Linked DNA regions of Homo sapiens: all the other regions are linked to region 3. The links are contacts of gene promoters, found by promoter capture Hi-C in human tissues and cell types (Jung and others, 2019). All regions are on one chromosome and are shown on one strand. Each heading gives the region's core, a stretch centred on a gene start or on the middle of the fragment in contact. The rest is flanking DNA. Distances are from core to core; before and after follow the strand shown. Region 1 overlaps XPO6 (exportin 6). Region 2 overlaps XPO6 (exportin 6). Region 3 holds the start of GSG1L (GSG1 like).

What was found. The method cuts DNA at HindIII sites, captures the fragments that hold promoters and counts their contacts. A contact is called where the count stands out against the background at its distance.
Region 1: a fragment that was not itself captured here is called in contact with the fragment with the promoter of GSG1L in region 3 in 2 of the 25 tissues and cell types used here (liver and spleen).
Region 2: a fragment that was not itself captured here is called in contact with the fragment with the promoter of GSG1L in region 3 in 2 of the 25 tissues and cell types used here (dorsolateral prefrontal cortex and spleen).

The regions. Positions count from the first base shown.
Region 1 is chr16:28,145,113-28,148,533 of GRCh38, forward strand. It overlaps XPO6 (exportin 6), which reads right to left. Exons shown (of 24, transcript NM_015171.4): 9 at 982-1,091. Among named protein-coding and RNA genes, the nearest start is that of XPO6, 65 kb to the right of the region's middle. RefSeq lists an enhancer at 1,457-1,972. The HindIII fragment of the contact is 5,335 bases long and covers 1-3,421 here.
Region 2 is chr16:28,127,909-28,131,299 of GRCh38, forward strand. The region is part of intron 12 of XPO6 (exportin 6); the gene reads right to left. Among named protein-coding and RNA genes, the nearest start is that of GSG1L, 66 kb to the left of the region's middle. The HindIII fragment of the contact is 4,971 bases long and covers 1-3,391 here.
Region 3 is chr16:28,061,686-28,065,460 of GRCh38, forward strand. It overlaps GSG1L (GSG1 like), which reads right to left and starts at 2,029. Exons shown (of 7, transcript NM_001109763.2): 1 at 1,391-2,029. The coding sequence starts at 1,739. The HindIII fragment of the contact is 12,466 bases long and covers 1-3,775 here.

The DNA of each region.
Region 1 (3,421 bases), core at 723-3,222, 83 kb after region 3:
TAGCATAAATATACAAATTACACGAATCAGTTTTAGTTTATTAGGAAACTACTCTGATCCTAAAATGCAAAATATAGCTTCTTTGCCTCCTTCATGACTGCCTGCTCACTGTGTGACTGGGATGCAGTCACCTACTGAGACTATGATGGGTATGTTTCTGCTAAGAAAAGCTGCCACATTTACTTTCCCCATATATGGATGCTGCCATTATTTTCCTGGCATGCTGAATCTCCACCTTCCCCTCCTCTTCTCCCCACCCTGTGGCACAAAGAACATATTGTACAGGAAATATACTCTCTTCCTGCAAGCAAGAAAAATGGGTTTGAGAAACATATGGGGGGGGAAACAAACCATTCCGCATTCTCTGTTTTTTAAAAATACAACAAAAAGTGCAAAAGCAATTATCTCTGGGGTGTGGGATTATGTTTATCTTCCTTACATTTTCCTATATCTTTTCCTAGATTTAAAAATGAACACCTTTTTCTTAACAGGTATTTATTAATTTATTTAGGAAATTTTCAAACACATACAAATGGGGTAAGAACATAATGAACCCCAAGTTCCTAGGAACTAACTCCAACATCAATCACCAACACATGGGCAGCCTGTTTCTTCTCTACAGGAACCCACTTCCCTTCTACCCCCACTGGGTTATTTAAGCAAATCCCAGATGTCATATCATTTTATCCAATAAATACTTCAGTTTGTATCTCTAAAATAAGGGCTATTAAAAAATTAAGAACATTAACACAAATGCACTAAAATATAAAAAATTAGTAATACATATTACTTTTAAAATTTTAAAAAGTCTTAACAAAATACTTAAAGGAGAAAAAAAAGGAAATGCTCAATGGCATTATTGCCTAAACAGCTTACATGACTCAGCTTCACTGAAAAGGTCCAAATGCATGGCTGTCTCTTAGGCCACTAGAATAACTGGCAAAATGACCATATCTAGTTTTCAGTGTTTGAGGAGTTTACCTGTTGAGAACTGCTTCCTTGTCTCCAAGACGACTTTTAATTTTACTTGTCAGATAGTCCAAAAACAGCGTCCAGATATCCAAACAAGAGAAGTAACCTTCATGAGTAGGCTATGGTACAAAAAAAATCCAGACAATGAAATTATTTAATGCTACTATTCCTTAGAAACACACACATGCCAGTGTTTAATTCCAGCAGAATGATGAAATCATAAGCCTAGATTCCCCAGTTTCCTGGTAACCAAAACTGGTGGCTTTTAGTCGGTCTATACCATTGGGCCCTCCTGAACCTTACAAGACAAGGGTACCATGGAACACATCATGAGGGAGATACTGTGCAGCATAAACTGAGTTATAAAATAAGTCAAGCAAAAACCTATCTTAAAATCTGAGACTGGTAGAGAGGGCTCTTACAGATCATCTAGTTTAAATCTATTTTCCAGAGAGAAATCGAGATTCAGAGATATAAGTTGTTCAAGGCCAGAGGTAAAAACAAGTCCCTTTACCCCCAGCCAATGCTCTTTCCATTACAAACCATTACGAAAGCAAAAATCAGTTTCAGTGGCTCCAAAGGTGACAGGTTCACACATTTGAATGTAAGGAAAGTAACACTTGCAGTCTTCCTACAGAACAGACTGAAAATGAGCTCATTAAGTCTGACCCTCAGGGCATTATCCCATTTGCAAAAGCAAGGGTGTCAAACGTGCTAATAGCAACCTCCAACCAGGTGCTGATGTGGAGGAACAAAGTGAGAAGTCTTTGTAGGATCCTAGTAGTACAATGAAGACCACTGCACTAGTTAACTTTCTCAAGGGCTCTGAGACTCTATTTCATGCAAAGTCCAGGCAACACAATCTCCAACAGCTACTCCTTCCCCTATGCATTCAGGTTCAACTTGTGGCTCCAAACCCTGATATCTCCACTCAAATGCTCACTACCTGAAAGACTCCTTTGGTTTTGCTGGTGGCTGTCTCACTGGACCACATATTTGGTGACAAGATCAAATATGAAAATAAATAATAACATGACCTTCTTGGATCAGTTTCTTTCCATTGCTGATCCACATGGAAATCTAGACGTTTACAAGGGCATACATGGAGGTGCCCAAGAAATAACTAACAATGGGTGGTGGTATCCAGTGGGAGTTCTGTACCTAAGCTGAAGTCTGAGACAGAATAAGTGTAACTTGGCTGGGCGTGGTGGCTCATGCCTGTAATTCCAGCATTATGAGAGGCCACGGCAGGTGGACTGCTTGAGACCAGGAGTTCGAGACCAGCCTGGGCAACATAGTGAGACTCGGTGTGTATATTTTAGAAAAAAAATTAAAATAGGAAAGGAAAGGAAGAAAAAGAAAGAAAAAAGAAAAGAGTGTAACTTAAAAAGCCAGGCAAATTCCAACTTCACGACCCAAAGGGTAGCTCTGGAACTAGACAGGACCAACCTCAGAAAACAAAATGACCAAGTCCTGTCTCTACCTCATACTTGGCAATACTGACAATATCCACGACATGAAGTGAACCAGGAGAATAACCAGGAAAAACAATGAATAAGCCACATGGAAATGATACGGCAGCCAGACCGAGTGGCTCACATCTGTAATCCCAACACTTTGGGAGGCCCAGGCGGGTGGATCTCTTGAGGTCAGGAGTTTGAGACCACCCTGGCCAACATGGTGTAAACCCTTTCTCTACTAAAAATACAAAAATTAGCCGAGCATGGCGATGCACGCCTGTGATCCCAGCTACTCGGGAGGCTTAACAGGAAAATCGCTTGAATCCAGGAGGCGGAGGTTGCAGTGAGCTGAGATCGTGCCACTGCACTCCAGCCTGGACAACAGAGCAAGACCCTGTCTCAAAAAAAAAGAAGAAATGATATGAGTAGTCCTTGGACAGGCCACTAGACTTGCCCATCCAAGAGACACACTCTTGTCCTAGGTTCAACTTGCTGAGCTTCCCTCAAGTCAATCACCAAGGTTATCCCTCCTTGGTTCAAAACTATCCACTAGCCCCCTCAAAAGAGCACAGCTCATCAGATGCATATGGAAGTGCCTTTGGGAAAGGTTACCACATAAATCCAAGTATTATGGCTCCGTCAAAGTACTTTATAATTATACATATAAACTTCATGCATGTGAATTGAGGACTTGCTATATGCTCAAGGCTGGGGGAAAGGTGAGCAGACACACCCTGTATAACCTGAAGCACCACCTTTCACATCCATTCCTGCAGGCCCCACTGCGAGGGCTTGTGCACTGCCCACAGGCCGCCCATGACCTGGCCTCTGATAGTTGCTGTGGACATGGTTCATTCCGGTCATCAAGATGATGGGCTGGCTCCATTTTTGAAGTCGCCTAACTTTTCAAAACCTTCACAGACCCATTTTTAAAATGGACCTAGACCCCAATTTACTTTTCAGATTCCAGGGCTACAAATCCAGGTTTC
Region 2 (3,391 bases), core at 480-2,979, 66 kb after region 3:
CTGGCGCAGAAACAAGATGGCAGCCCTGAAGAGGCTGTGGGTGCAGCTAATGAGTAAGCCAGCTCCTCCAACCACAGCAACAGAATGACCATCCCACCCAGCCAGACGAACTCACGGAACCAATGAACTGAGAGGGATTTTCATCACACTGGTTGTACGAAAGGGAACACAGACTTCATGGGCTACAAAAAGAGACAGCCCCAATCTCTCAGTTAACTGAAGTGCCAAAATTATACACCCTCTGAATGTCAATGGGATTTTCAAGGTTATATCTATGCAACCAACTCCCAGGGTTGACTTCTAAAACCTGCTCCTCCTCTGCACACCAACCAGACCTCAGGGCTCTGTGGGAATAAACTCTAATGAAAAATACACCCTGACACTGGGTATAGCATAGTACAGGCCCAAAAAGAGGGGAGGCCAGCTTTTCTTTCTCAGAGCAACACTGGGGGTCACTGAGTCCGCTTCAGCAGTCCCTGGCACTCTCCACATGCTCAACCTTCATTTCGCACCTCCACCTCCCCCCAGGCTCTACCCTGACCACCAGTTTCCAACTTCTCTATAGTATCCAATTCCTTCAACTAGGTACCTGCTGAATACCTGAGAACAAGCTTCTTAAGTATTTTAAGTGTACAAGGGGAACACTGTATTTGTTTTAAAAACCAAACCAAAACACTACCCTAAATCAAGTTTCCATTTGAGTATGGTCCTTAATAGACAATTACTAGAGAGCTTAAAAGTCGCCCTGACCAAGCCGTCCCCTCTGCCCAGCACTTCCCCTGCACACCCGGCCCTTCAGCCTCTTCCTGGACCTCGGCTGAATGCTAGGGAGCTCAAGGGAGCCCTTCCATCTCTGGACAACTTGGTCACAAACACGGGTAAAGTAAATCTCCCTGTGATTGCTCATCACCCCTGGCCCACTCCTTGAGGGTAGAACACAGAACAAGCCAAAGCCTGCTGACAGCATGATAGCCCTGGGGATGTAACCCCTCATTACCCTCCTGAGAATCCTTGCCATCCTGATCCCTCCCCTCTGAACTTGTCCTATTTTGTCTAGCAAAGAGCAGTACCTAGGATGACAACTATGGGTACCTAGCATCCAGTACCCAGGATGGAAAACAGCTTGGAAGTGCTGGGTGTGTGTTTTAAACTGTGAGTTTGAACAATATGAAACTGTTGACACTTGATCACTTCTGACCCAACAAAACTGCAATTCCATACAGTTCCACTTCACACATATGTGTATCTAAGATCCATGTTCATCAAAAGTACAGCTGGTTCTTTCCTGTTCTATCTGCAAGGCAGACAATCGCATGGGCAATAAATACCCCAAATCAAATTCTCTACCCTTGACACCCCCTCCTTCAGCCTATAAACCTAATTTCACCACCACAAAAGTCACGCAGGGCATCAAGTAAACTTGAGGGGATAGGCCAGTGTCCCACTGTGAAAAGCTGTTCAGATCCACCCACACTTTCTTCTGTCTGGTCAAGGCTTAGATTTCCCCCCAAAAGCACAGGACATCTGCAAGGTAGAACCTTCAGATGAGAATAATGCTGAAAGGTTTGGAGGCACAAAACATCATGGCCACACAAAAGTCCTATCTTCCACAAACCAAGTCATTCTAAAGCTGTCTAGGTATGACCTAAGCCACATCCAAAGAACAGCTCCTTGGCAATTCACTGCCCTAGGGGAAAAAAAAGTCTTAAACATAATTTAGTCTTCTCTTTTTGAGGAGTTGAGGGAGGTCTAAAAATTAGCATTCAGGCATTTCCCTCTGAGAGAACAAATCATAATCATAAATCATAAACGGACCCAAGCAGAACAAACAATTTAAGTCTAAAAATCTTACATAAAATGTTGTAGGCAAAATAATCCCTTACACAGGAAAGTTTGCATGGGTAACCAGAAAAGTTAAAGGGTTACTTAGAGGAGAAATACTGTCTCAATGAAGGAAGATGCCAATGAGGGGTGGCAGAAGTCAAATACAGAATGGAGGCTTTGGGGTCACATACGGATGTCAATGCTGTGCAAGGGGAACACCACCAATGAGGGTTTCTTAACCCACATAAGGTAGAAAAGACAGAGGGAGCAAAGGATGACCTGCCAGGAGCCAGAGCAGCACAGAGCAACCAACGTGGCCCAGCAAGACAAGCTGTGCCTTGGTCTTGACAGGGAAGTGGAGGCAGGCTCAGCAGCAGGAAGGGAAACAGTGAGAAGCACGAGATCTTCTGAATCCAACTGCTCTGACAAAAGCAAAAGTGGGAGCCTTCCAGGCTGGGTAACCACACTGCAGGCCTCACTGCTGGCCAAAATGTGCATCCCATTGTCATACACGGTCACAGCACCAGGAGTAGACAAGAATCGCGGCTGGCGCCCATTTACACAGGCTCCAGAGGAGACCCAAGAACTAAAGGCTGGGCTAGAAAGTAAATGCAAATGAAGGAAGGCCCAGAGCCTATCAGGGATGAGAGGGCACAGTTTCTGCTGAGGGTCATGAGGCTGACTGACTGGTGTGGCATGGAGGTTATTTGAGGGGGTAAATGGCTATGGGAACCAGGGGAAAAAATGTACTCAGAGTTTCCATTTGTTAATAGCCTTTGCACTGGAAACTTGGCTTCTGAGCCACCAAAAATTGGGGAATGCTTTGTCATGGATGAGAGAGCTCGTTTTAAAGCAGGAAATAAGCATTTTTCTGGCCTGGGAGGTTTTGCCACTGGAGTACAAGCCAAGGATCAGTGCTGAGGATGAGATTTATAAATGATCCGGACGAGCCGAGTTCTGTGAAATTGCCAGTAAACAGGCTTTAGTGAAAGCAAGTATGCGGTATTTCCTATAGGAAAAAATAAATCACATTATCCTTCTAGGGAGAAGAGCTCAGAATTATCAGCTATGTCCCAGAAATAGAGTTTCAGATTCACTAGACTTTCACCTAAAGACAGACACAACAGAATGTAAAAACACCAGCTTTTACAAAAGTAAACAGGACACTGAAGGGTCAGTGTGGGGGAGGAAAGAACACCTGCTTGATTTTTTTAATAGATCAAGAACAGTGTCTTCAGGGTCCTGAGTACATTCTAATTTGAATAGTGGTCCTGAAGGAAAGACCACCTGGGCACGATTATTCCCAAAAATGGCTTCTGGAAACATCTGTAGCACTTCTACACAGCCAAATGATTTTCATTAGTGGTGACAGCACATTTTATAAGCATGTTTGTTTTGAAAGTGTCTTTTTAAAGTTTTGTCTTTTTAAATTTCTTACCCTATCTACAAAGTCAGGGCCTACATTCGGGGCATGCCAAGGCCCATCAGCCTCCTGGGGCCCACTAGATTATTTAGAAGCTTATATAGTCATGGAAACCAGCCGTCACAGACCACCAAGGACAGCCTC
Region 3 (3,775 bases), core at 779-3,278:
GGCCCCAGAAAATGTCAGGGAGTGCCAAGTGTGGCAGGGAGATAAACGCAGTGGTGAGATCCAAAGATGGAGACCCTCCCTCCAACGGGGAGCTCACAAGGTTGTCCCTCCTCAGTATCCTGACATGGAAGGCAGGTGGGAGAGTCCCAGTGAAAGGAGCCCCTGAAGAAGGAGGTGGGGCGGGGAAGGGCATTCCAGACAGAGGATGCAGCCTGTGCAGAGGCCTGGAGCTTTTCACTGGGTTCGCTTCACAGCTTCCTCCCTCTGCCCTCTAAACCACTTAGGCCACTGGCTTATTTAGGGCAAACTAAGGGTGGAGGTCTGCTGTAACCCACCCTTGAGCACACACATATGTGTGGTGTCCACACTGAGGAGCTAGGCATGCAGGGAGGAGTTTTAACCTTGGAGAAAGAGGTCAATTCACTCAGGAGGGTGTCCATGCCTGGACACCCGCTCAGAGATACCACGTCTTTCGGGCCAGCTCTACCTGCTGTGTGGCACAACCAGCTGTCCGGCAGCTGTCCCCTGGGCCCTGCCACAGCCCGGCTGTCTGCCTCCAAAACACGCACTCCAGCCCAGGCTGCCTCTGGAGGGTAGAGGAGGGGGTCCAGGCAAAGGGGACAGTCTGATCTGCCTTCTGAAAAGTCAGTCCCCCACCGAACCTAATAGGAGCCTTGTGCTAAGCTAAGCCCTCCTGGACTCCTCGACCCGGAGTTTGCCCAGCTGTCCCCAGTTCCCTAGCCTGCCTCTCCCAGGAGGGGGCCAGGATACAGAGGGCTCCCTGGCGTCTGGCAATAGGGGTGCCTCTGGGCGGGTGCGGCTTTCCGGGAGCCCGCGGGACTCCCCCACTCCCCACTCCCGTCTGGGAGGTTCGGCGTGGGTTGGCGATGGGGGTGGAAGGCTCCCGGGTCTGTGGATCTGCGGCAGGAGGGGCGGCTGGTAGCAGGAGTCCCTGCATCACCCCCACCCCCAGGGGCGTTCCGGGGTGGGTGGGGGCATCTAGTGCCCCGCGAAAGGAAGAGGAGGAGGGGGCGAGCGTGGAGATGAGTTCAGGAGCGGAAAGCAGCGCGCGCCCCTCCGACCGGCAGCGGGGGTGGGCGCCTTCCCGGGGCGCGGGAGCGTCCCCAAAGCCGCGGGGCGTCCGCAGCGGGTAGGAGCTCTGCCTTGCACCTCTCCACGGCGGGGCGTCCCGCACGTCCCCCCATGCTGGTCCCCGGCCCCGGAACGGCGCGCGCCCCCTGCCCCGGAACGTCGCCCCTAGCCAGGCGGAGCGCTGGGAGCTGGGCCCAGGCGGCGGGAGGAGGGCGAACGGGTCCGGGGCTCGGGCCTCGATGGCCGCGCCGCCCCGGGGGAGCCGGAGCCGAGCTGGCCGCCGCCCGCGCGCACTCACCAAGCCCGCTGAGCTCCTCCTCGCACGAGTACCAGATGCCGGTGTGGAAATTCCTGAAGAGGAAGCGGTCGTCGCCGGTCTCCCAGCTGTAGAGCGCGCCGCCAGGGGGGCCGTTCCCCGAGGCGGTGGCGGCGGCGGCGGCGGCGGCGGGGGCGGCGGTGCCGTTGGCCGTGGCGTTGGCGCCCGAGTTGGGGCAGTTGGCGCGCCCGCCCTGGCCGCAGCCCGGCTTGGGGACCCGCTGCGTGCCCTGGCACCAGTGCGTGGTGAGGAAAGCGGTGGTGGCGAACAGCAGCGCCAGCAGGTTCAGGGCCACGGCCAGGAGCGCTCGGCCGCGGCGGCTAGTCTTCATGCCGCCCGCGCCGCCGGGACGGGACTGCACCGCCGGGGAGCTCCGCGCGCGAAGTTGGCAGCTGGCGCCCCGCGTCAGCGGCCGCTGCCCGCCGCGCCCCGGGGCTCGGGTGCCTGAGATCGGCGGCGGCGGACGCGGCGCGGGCCCATGCCCCCCCCAACCCCGGGGTGGGGGCGCGGCGCGGGGGGCGTGCGGGGCGGGCTGGCGGGGCGGGCGGCGGTGGAGGAGCGGCTACGGCGCGCCCGGAGCCCGGAGCGCGAGTGCACCTCGGCTAGGAGCCGCTGGCGCCTGGCAGCGGCCACGGCGCAGGGACGCGCGCCCCTCCGTGGGGAGACACCTGCAGGCGGCCGGCGACACTGTTCCGGAGCCCGCCCGCACGGGGAGAGGGGGCCGCCACGCCGGGCGCGGGCGGGGGCCTGGGAGTGGAGGGACGCCCCCGAAAGAAATCCGAGCCAGGGTGAGGGTCTGAGACGCAAGGAGAATCCCAGGCAAGGCGCTCCTGAGAAAAGATCCCCACGGCGGACGTGGGGCAACAAAACCCGCCGGGAGCGGGCATCTCATGAGACCCAGAGAGGCCCTGCCCCAGGAGACAAGGGCAGAGCCTGCTGGGGCTCCCCAAGAGGGACACGGACCAGCAGGACCCTGTCCCAGAAGGGGATCCCCAAAAGGACCCCCGCACCAGACCCTGAGAAAGGAGTTTTTCCAAAGGTTCTAAACAGCAGAGCCTGCAGGGCTTCCCACAGCCAGGGAGCTGCAAGACCCCCTGGATAAGACAACCCATGCTGGACTTGGAGTGGCAGAATCTGTCAGGAGGCGCCCCTCCTGGAGTATTGGGTTATAGGGTTTGAAACGTTTTTCTGTCTCCTGGGTGTCACCTCCAGCATCTGGGAAGAGCTCCCCTCCAAGGATGAAACTGTCATCTGGGCTCCCAACCATGGCATGCAACTGCAGGAAGAGTGGCAACAGGGTACCCCAGACAGCCCACTGCACCCACCTGAGATCCCAAACAGCAGAACCCTAGGAGGGCCCATGCCGGCCACAAAGTTATTGCAGCTACCAGGCAGTGGTGCCCTACAGGGGCTGCCAACCCTGCTCACATGCACACCATGTGAATGTGGGTAGAATCTTCAAGATTCGGGTGGGGGCAGGGTGGCCAAACATACTGACTTTGGGATCAAGCATATCTAGGGCTTGACCAGCTGTGTGGCTTTGAACAGGTCACTTACCCTCTCTGAGCCTCAATTTCCATAACTATAAAAAAGGGAGGACCCCCCCCCCTTCAAGGTATATCACAGTGGGCTGCTGTAATGAGATCATGGCTGCAAAAAGCATTTGGCACACAGTAGACTCAATTAATAATTCACTGTTACTGACATCTGAACCAAGATCAGTTGACCAAACTCAGACAAACCTCTTCAGGCTCTCCTGTGCAACGTGGAAACTGTGTGCAACCCCGTCCCCACCTCTGCTCTAAGATGACCACGCTCCCTGAACTCCCTTCGCGCTGCACAGCACTTACTGCCCAGATGCTCAGGGCGTGCAACAATTAATTGCATGTTGATTATAAGAGCTCATTTGAATTCTGCCCAAGCTGAGAACTGCTCCGACAACCCCCGGCTTGCCGAGTGGCAGGCCTTGCAGAATTCAAGGTTAACCGATTATGAATTGCCTTACTCCTGTGGGTGAGCCGGCACCCACTGTCAGCTGCTGCTAATCTGCCGGGGGGTAGGTGAGAGGAAAACGTTGTGGGCAACGTCCCTGGTAAGAGCAGGCACGAAGGATGGCCAAGGGTCTCCAAACTTGCTTTTAGAGCCCTTTTCTGGCACTGTGCAAGAGATTCTCAACTATTTTGAAAGAGAGGACCTCCATGTGATAATGGTGGCATTGAGAGTATTGGTTGACAGAGAAAATACATCATCGCCAAACAGCTGTAAAGAATCCAGTAGCATCTTTTTTTTTTTTTTTTTTTTGAGATGGAGTCTCACTCTGTCGCCCAGGCTGGAGTGCAGTGGTGCAATCTCAGCTCACTGCAACCT